3 separate regions of the Homo sapiens genome follow, and all the other regions are linked to region 1. The links are contacts of gene promoters, found by promoter capture Hi-C in blood cells and fetal thymus (Javierre and others, 2016). All regions are on one chromosome and are shown on one strand. Each heading gives the region's core, a stretch centred on a gene start or on the middle of the fragment in contact. The rest is flanking DNA. Distances are from core to core; before and after follow the strand shown.

Evidence for each region. Contacts are between HindIII fragments. The CHiCAGO score rates a contact against its expected background, and 5 or more counts as called.
Region 2: a fragment that was not itself captured here is called in contact with the fragment with the promoter of SNX7 in region 1 in 4 of 17 cell types (neutrophils, total CD4 T cells, naive CD4 T cells and 1 more); the score reaches 6.4 in neutrophils.
Region 3: a fragment that was not itself captured here is called in contact with the fragment with the promoter of SNX7 in region 1 in 4 of 17 cell types (non-activated CD4 T cells, fetal thymus, activated CD4 T cells and 1 more); the score reaches 5.6 in non-activated CD4 T cells.

The regions. Positions count from the first base shown.
Region 1 is chr1:98,660,420-98,663,024 of GRCh38, forward strand. It overlaps SNX7 (sorting nexin 7), which reads left to right and starts at 1,302. Exons shown (of 9, transcript NM_015976.5): 1 at 1,302-1,492. The coding sequence starts at 1,313. SNX7-DT (SNX7 divergent transcript) reads right to left here and starts at 353. Exons shown (of 1, transcript NR_189290.1): 1 at 1-353. RefSeq lists silencers at 1,104-1,243, 1,264-1,383, 1,614-1,683. The HindIII fragment of the contact is 2,557 bases long and covers 537-2,605 here.
Region 2 is chr1:99,537,738-99,540,342 of GRCh38, forward strand. No RefSeq gene overlaps it. Among named protein-coding and RNA genes, the nearest start is that of LINC01708, 51 kb to the left of the region's middle. The HindIII fragment of the contact is 8,149 bases long and covers 1-2,605 here.
Region 3 is chr1:99,491,654-99,494,258 of GRCh38, forward strand. No RefSeq gene overlaps it. Among named protein-coding and RNA genes, the nearest start is that of LINC01708, 5.2 kb to the left of the region's middle. The HindIII fragment of the contact is 3,914 bases long and covers 1-2,605 here.

The sequences.
Region 1 (2,605 bases), core at 52-2,551:
AAAATGTTATCATTTACTAAGGAATGGAAAACTTGTACATGAAACAAATACAATCTGCAAGATGGAATAAAATTAAATGCTAAATTGAGAACAGACTGTCATTTAGAAAGTCTTTCTGAAAGAGATGGGACTATATTTAATTTCTGAAGGATGGGCAGGAGATGGCATTTAAAGTACAGAAATCATCAAGCACAGAAACAAATGTGGATACTCATGGGGCAGTGACCAACCTGACTGAAGGGTGGGTGCACGTCTGAAATCAATGGGAATACATTTGAATGATTAGGAGATAATATATTATTAAGGCCTTGCCTCTAATCAGAAATAAAGATATTCTCTATTTCCCCAAATAAGGAATTCTTACATAGAGCTTAATGTATTTAAAAATTTTTAAATGGGCCTACAGAAAAGAGGTGGGGCTGACGGAAGTAAATAAAACCTGAAGATAAATTAAAGAATATATCAACGTGGGCAAAATTTTCCATTAGTTTTGGAACTTAGTTTTGTTTTTGAATAATAAGCAGTTAAATAATTAAAGCTTTGCCTTGGCAATGCAAGGACTGAAGATTATTTCTCGGTGGCAATTTTCCAGACTTGCTAGTTGTCCTTGGGTCTTGGTAACATTCTGCTCATTAACTTCAGGAAGACGTCCAGGAGTAAAGATGCATTTGAAAGTGGCTGAAAATAGTTTGTAAAGCTCAGCTTTCCTGGCTCGACAGTGAAATGACCGCACAGGCCAGTCACTGGGTCAAAAATCAATTAACAAAACGGGAAGTTTTCATGTCTTTATTTTTACATTAGCTCGAAAATCACAACCAAGAAGAAAGGCAACCACTGAATACAGGAAATACAGTATTGTTATTGCTGTTTTTTTTTTTTCTCTTGGCAAGGCTGGGTCGGGTGCCTTCCAGCCTCGCTGTGGATCCCGCGAAGTGGACGGTTCGCTTCGTGGCTTCTTCCCAGACCCCGCCACTGCGGAAACCGTCACTCGGTGGCCCCCGACTGGGTCAATGCGAGGACGCCCACCTCCTACCTTTGAGTCTCTCCTCTTCTCCAGGGTACAGCCAACCCTTTCTCCAACGTAGCCGGAGTCCGAGAGTCCCAGTTCCGCCCCTCCAGCCCGCCCCAGGCCAGGTGGGGATGCGCCCGGCCCGGGCCAGCGCTGGTCCCGGCAGTTCCGCGTCTGCGCAGCGGGCGAGGGGCTGGAGCGGGGCCGGCCGGGGAGGTGCAGGAGACGTGGGAGCCAATGGGCACGCTCGGGGGAGCCGGGCTGGCGGCGGCGGTGGCGGCCGGCTGGGCGCGCACTCTCGGGATGGAGGGCGAGCGCCGGGCATCGCAGGCGCCCTCCTCGGGCCTCCCGGCCGGGGGCGCCAACGGGGAGAGCCCGGGGGGCGGCGCCCCCTTTCCGGGCAGCAGTGGCTCTTCCGCCCTGCTGCAGGCGGAGGTGCTGGATCTGGACGAGGACGAGGACGACCTGGAGGTGTTCAGCAAGGTGAGGGCGGCGGCGGCGAGTCCCGGGAAACTTCCAAGGCAACTCCGGGCGTTGCCAGCATTGCGCCGACGGCTGCCTCTGGCGCGCTTGCCCTCCCGGGGCGGTGGCTCTGAGCTGGGGACGAGTGAGGTCCCCCGGGCTGCTGGACCCCGCCTGCCAGCTCTGGCCGCACCCGGGGCCGCGTCGCCTCGGGGCCTCAAACCGCAGCCGCTCCCTCCTCCGCACTTTGACCTTCCGTTCGGCGGGGCTGTGGCTTAGTGGAGTCTGCAAAGTTGTGATTTGTTTTCCCTTTCTGCTTCTCTGACACAGACATCTTCCTCGCGGCAGCTCCCGAACCTGGGAGGCTGGTGGCTCAAAACCGCTCCCGCCAGCTGCTTTTCGGGCGAGGCCAGCCCTGAACTCTGGGAGAGCAGCCAAGTTTAGAGAAATTATTCTTAATTTAGTGTTGTTGCTTGTGGATTTGAGACTTGGGTGAGTCTCGGGTCTTGTGGGAATAGGTTCTAGGAAATCTCCCTGAACAGGAGAAAACGGTTGTTTCTAACAGGAAGCTCCTCCGCTGAGGAGCTAAGGATTTTTCAGATGGTCAGCTACTGCCACCCAACCCACAGCCAGTGCTTTCGTTTTTCCTTGCCCCCGGGAAATTTAGGACCAAAGGCTCTTATTTGCTTATTTTACTGTTGGAGGGAAATTGACTTGTGGGGGCTAGTGGTAGACTTTTGGTACGTGTAGACTGGTGTTTGTAATTTCTTAAAGGGTTTTAGAAAAGAAAAATACCTTTCTTGCAGGGAGGTTGAATGTCACTCCAGTTTCTCAAGTTGCTGCTGAGAGAAGACCTGAGTTCAGATCACAACGCTGTATTCATTACTAAGAAGCCTGTTCATTTTAACGTTACCTGGAGATATTAGGTAAAGCAAACGACCTACTTAACCACCGCATTTACTCTGGGAGAGCAAACCAAAGTTAGGAAGTGACCATGCATACTCTGACTCCAAAGAGGAGTATATAAAACTTATTTCTACTTCGGTTTAAATGGAATGATAGGCCCAGGTTTGTATTCCGAATATTTAAACAGACTATCACAGTTTTGTGCTCTTGACTTTTCTGTTAAGTAGT
Region 2 (2,605 bases), core at 48-2,547, 880 kb after region 1:
CAGCATTATTCTTATATCAGATGTTCATGTTAACAGTTCTTCACAGATTAATTTAGCATGATTAGTAATTACAGGAACATAGTTTGCAAATTATTTACTTTTTGAGTGTGATGTTAAAGGGTAGTCCACAAGACTACCCCCACTTCTGACACCATTTCAAGTTTAGGATCTCTAAGACCATACTTAGGTTTAATAATGCACTAGAAAGACTCACAGAGCTCTCTGGATGCTGTTATACTTATGATGACAGTTTAGGATGCAGGTTAGGTTAGGCTGAAAGGCTTACATCCTGACTCTGACTAAAGAATCCTGTCGTGAGTTCCTCAAATCTTGTCGGGAGTTCCTCAAATTGTTGACATACTAATTAATACGTAACCTACTAACATCGAAAAGAACACTGATTTGTTTCTGAGTCATGAACTTTTACTGGTTGTCTTGCATGTAGAACATTTTAGCTTTTATGTTGTAATCTGTAGCCAATGATTATAACCTCCGTATTGCACCCCACAATGAAAAGGACAATTTTGGTGTGAGGAGTCCTCCTCCCTTCTTCTAAACTTTCCTGTAAAAGCCTTCCAACTGGTAGTGGACTGTGGAATATGCCCAACTTTTTTGGTGTGTTTTCCCAGGTCAGTCCTCACAGTTGGCTTCCAACAAACTTTTGTCAAATTATTTCTGCCTCAGCAGCCTTAATTTTGGTTGACATGACTCAAAACTTCCATTATAAATTGCACTGTTAGGCTGTCTGGCACAGCCTAAATTCCCAAATAAGACACTCCTATCAGGTATGACATTGCAAGAACATAGAGATTACCTCCCAGAAGCTGAGGGCAAAGGCCAGATCTCTCTTTGGAAAAGGTTAAATTCTTTATTCCACAAAGAATTTAAATAAGTCCAAGGTTTGTTTTTGTTTTTGTTTTTTTCCAAAAACACTCTTTTCACTTGTATTTTGATATACTTTCTGAAGTAGGAGATCTAGAGGTCCAATTATAGCTACGGGGTCAGGATGTGAATGTGAACGTCATCTTCTTGGCATGCAGTTATTTCAGTGTCTCTACAAGTGTAAGCATAGATTAGCATCAAACTACAGTAGAGACCAACCTGCAATTATAGCTAATTCATGTGACCAAATTAGGGAATCTAAATAAGGAGAAAGATTTTAGTGTCCTTAATTTAGGATCCAGCCCAATAACTAGACTCTGAAGCCAGGCCTATCCTGCACTGTTATCCCAAAAATCAGTCCTCTTCTTAATTCTACCATCTTTTCCTATAGTGCATTTCAGACTCCTTGCTATTCATTTTTTTTGACTACCAAAAGATAAATAAATGGACCAGGTTCAGTGGCTCACACCTGTAATCCCAGCACTTTGAGAGGCCAAGATGAGGCGATCACCTGAGCCCAGAGATTTGAGACCAGCCTGGGAAACATAGGGAGACTCTGTCTCCAGAATTAGCTGGGCATGTTGGTGCCCACCTGTAGTCCCAGCTACTTGGGAGGCTGAGACAGGAGGATTGCTTGATCTCAGAAGGTCAAGGCTACAGTGAGAGTGAGTCATGATAATGCCACTATACTCCAGGCTGAGCAATAGAATGAGAAACTGTCTCAAATAAATAAACAAATAGATTATTTATCCATCTGGATCTCCAAGTTTCACTCCATTCTGTCTAGAGTTGATCTTTAAACAATGTGAGGTTAGGAGTGCTGACCTCCCACACAGTCAAAAATTCACATACAACTTTTGACTCCCCAAAAACTTAACTACTAATAGCTTACTGTTGACAGAAAGTCTTACTGATAACATGAACAGTTAACATATATTTTATATTTTCCATGTATTATATGTTGTATTCTTACAATAAAGTAAGCTAGAGAAAAGAAAATGTTATTAAGGAAATCATAAGGAAGAGAAAATACATTTACTGTTCATTAAGTGGAAGTGGATCTTCATAAAGTCTTCATCCTCATCATCCTCATGTTGAGTAGCCTGAGGAATGGAGGAAGAGAAGGGGTTGTTCTTGCTGCCTCAGAGATAGCAGAGGCGAAAGGAAATCCACATATAAGTGGACCTACACAGTTTAAACCCATGTTGTTCAACAATCAACTGTATTAGCAAACCTACTGAAGTCTCAAAGGCCTAGGTCTTTCCATTGAAAGCAACAGTAACCTAATTCCAGTAAATCTGGGCAAAAAATAAAAATAAAAAGACACTGATGTGCTCAAAGAGAGAACTCCATGTAAAGATGAAGGGAGATTAGGGTAATGCAACAGAGCCAAAGAATGCCAAAAGATTGCCAAAACCCACCAGAAACTAAAGGGATGCATGGAACTAATTTCTGCCTCACCCCCTAGGAAGTAACCAACCCTACTGATACCTGATACCTCCAGAACTGTTATACAATAAATTTCTGTTGTTTAAGCCAGTTTATTCCCAACTTTTTGGCATCAGGGACCAGTTTTGTGGAAGATAATTTTTCCACAGCCAGGCATGGGAGTTGGCTTCAGGATGATTCAAGTACATTACATTTATTTTGCACTTTATTCCTATTACTATTACATTGTAATATATAATGAAATAATTATACAACTCACCGTAATGTAGAATCA
Region 3 (2,605 bases), core at 28-2,527, 830 kb after region 1:
TACAAAGTACCATTGCAAAATAGCCTATTGAGGAGGATAAAAATTTACTACCAACTTCATTTGGCCTCCCTGACCAATCGCCTCTAATGGCTACTCTGTGTTATCTTCCCCATGTTCTCTGCTGTTTATGTCTTTCCTGCTGCCTCTTTCGCTGCTCGGCTTCCTCTCTGTGCTTCACGCATTTTACCACTGGCATGCAATCCACTGAAGGATGTTCCCGCAGAGATTTTCCACTCCGTGGAGGAGTCAGAGATTCACCATTAACCCCAAACTGGCCTACTGGCATTTACAGAACTGTCCAATAATGTCCCTCCTCCCTTCTCATCAGCTGGTGTATGCTTGGAAAATACAAGCAATTATGATATTGTCCTGAGGTAAACATAATTAGGAATCAAATCATTAGAGAAAAAAATCCACCATAATGCTTTTTAAGCCAAATATAAATGATTTATTAAAAGCAATCTATATTCGTTTGTCAGACTGATTTCCAGAACTGAAAATCTCATTTAATATTTCTATCCTTACCTAAAATGGTACTTAAAAGGTTATTTGAAATGTTATTTGTGATTACTAACTCTTATGGTCTTGCAGAAATCAAAATACCACAGACAAATATAGGCAAGGGTAACAAGGCAGCTGTAAATGTTTTTCCTCTAAACAGATTCTCAAAAGTTCTTTTTACTGAAAAAAAAAATCAACCACGCAAATGAGCTCTGCTAGGAAATATTAATAAATCTGCATGCAAAATTTGATCCAGTAAATATTAGGTGCCTGGTATGTATGGCACTGGCAAAATGCAGAGATAAATAAATCCTCAAACTCTCTGTCCCTCAGTATCTTCATTTGCAAAATGGTAATAACAATAGTACTTACCTCAAGTACGTGTTGTAAGGATTAAAGGAGTTAACACATATGAACACTTAGGGGTGGGCCTGGCACCTAGTAAGTGTTCAAGAATGTTAGCTGTAATTTTTATTATTTACAATGATGAAGAAGTTTTAGCCGGGCATGGGAGATTTAAATGTAAACATAAAAATATGGACCCCACTGTGGTTGTTCCAGATGTTTTTAGTATTTTTTAAACCTCACTTGCCTTGAAAATGCATCTATATGAGTAGCACCTCCACCATAAGTCTGATCAACATTGGACATCTCAGAGACTTGAAACCAAACCAATAAAATAAGGGCTAATAGTACCTTTTCATTCCCTCCACTCATTTCCAGAGAAAACCGGGAAGATAGTTCTTTCTGTGGGAGACCCAAGTTTCCAGCTCAGGCTAATGCCTGGATATCTTCTTGAATATTCTAAAGTGAACCTAAAAGACATCAGATAAACCCTGAAATATAATTTATTTGTTTCATTTGGTTGTGTGTGTGTCTTCTGAAATCTATAAAATGGGGATAATTACACAAAATGACAATATATAATAATATATAATGCTGTGAGCCAGACCTTGCTACAAGAAATTTCCATATATTAACTCATTTAATTCTCACTATAACCAATTATTGTTCTCAATTTACAAATGAAGAAGCTAAGGCACAGAGTAGCTGCTCATATAGATGTATCTTGCCCAACGTCACACAATTAATTAGCCAGGATTTGAAACTAGTAATGCTCTTAACTACAATATTATACTGGTCCCTACTCAGCACTTACATTATAAATTATGCCTATACCAAAATTTCTGATATGTCAAGACCAAAAGCTCCAGGAGCTCCTTAGAGGAGCACAAAGAACATTGGCTTTGTCCTGTTTAACAAAGTCTGTGTGGTTCCTATAACTAGGGTCACCATACATCTAATTCTGCCTGGGACAGTCCAGGTTTGTACCTGTTTCCCCAGTGAAAATTATAAATAGCACCCCCTTTCACCTTCAACAGTAATGTAAATTATATGTCTGATCTTTAACTTAATAGTTCCAAATGTGAGAAATGAGTTTGTATGTGTGTATATACACATATACACACATATGTTGCCGCCTGAGATTTTGAATCATTTACCCTTAAAATGCTTTGCTACTTTTTCTTGCACAGATTTCTATCTCAAAAATAAAATCAGAATATTCACTCAGCAAAAGAGTGGAGGGGGTATAAAGGAGTAACAGGCCCTGACACCTATGACACAAAGTATTGGTAATAATTCTGACTAGAACTCAGCTTATTCTCCCGTTGTCCTGCTTAGTTCATGAACTATTGTTGAAGTTGTTTTGTAAAATGCATTTGAATGTATCTTTGACAAACATACTGTTAGTCACTTTTCATTGTTTTGTAATCTCCAAATTGATATGTTCACTTGCTTGATCGTTGAAAGAGGAGCATCCTATTTTCATTCATGGGGTTTCCTTGAGGTTTCATTGAGGTTTCAAACTTTCATGCATTTGTTAGGGTATGTATAAAGTAACAGATTGTTTTCCCTGCTACACTTTCACCATTTCTTGTCCTGATTCAGTTGTCTTTGATGCTGCTTTGTTTTATGAATTTAGTTTGCCTTCTCTCAATCCAAGAAAAAAAAAAGAAGTAGAAGAAAGAAAAGAAACAATTACATCACCTTTATATGCTTTCTGGGTATCTTCCTTCCACTTATCATTTCTTCAAAAATGGAG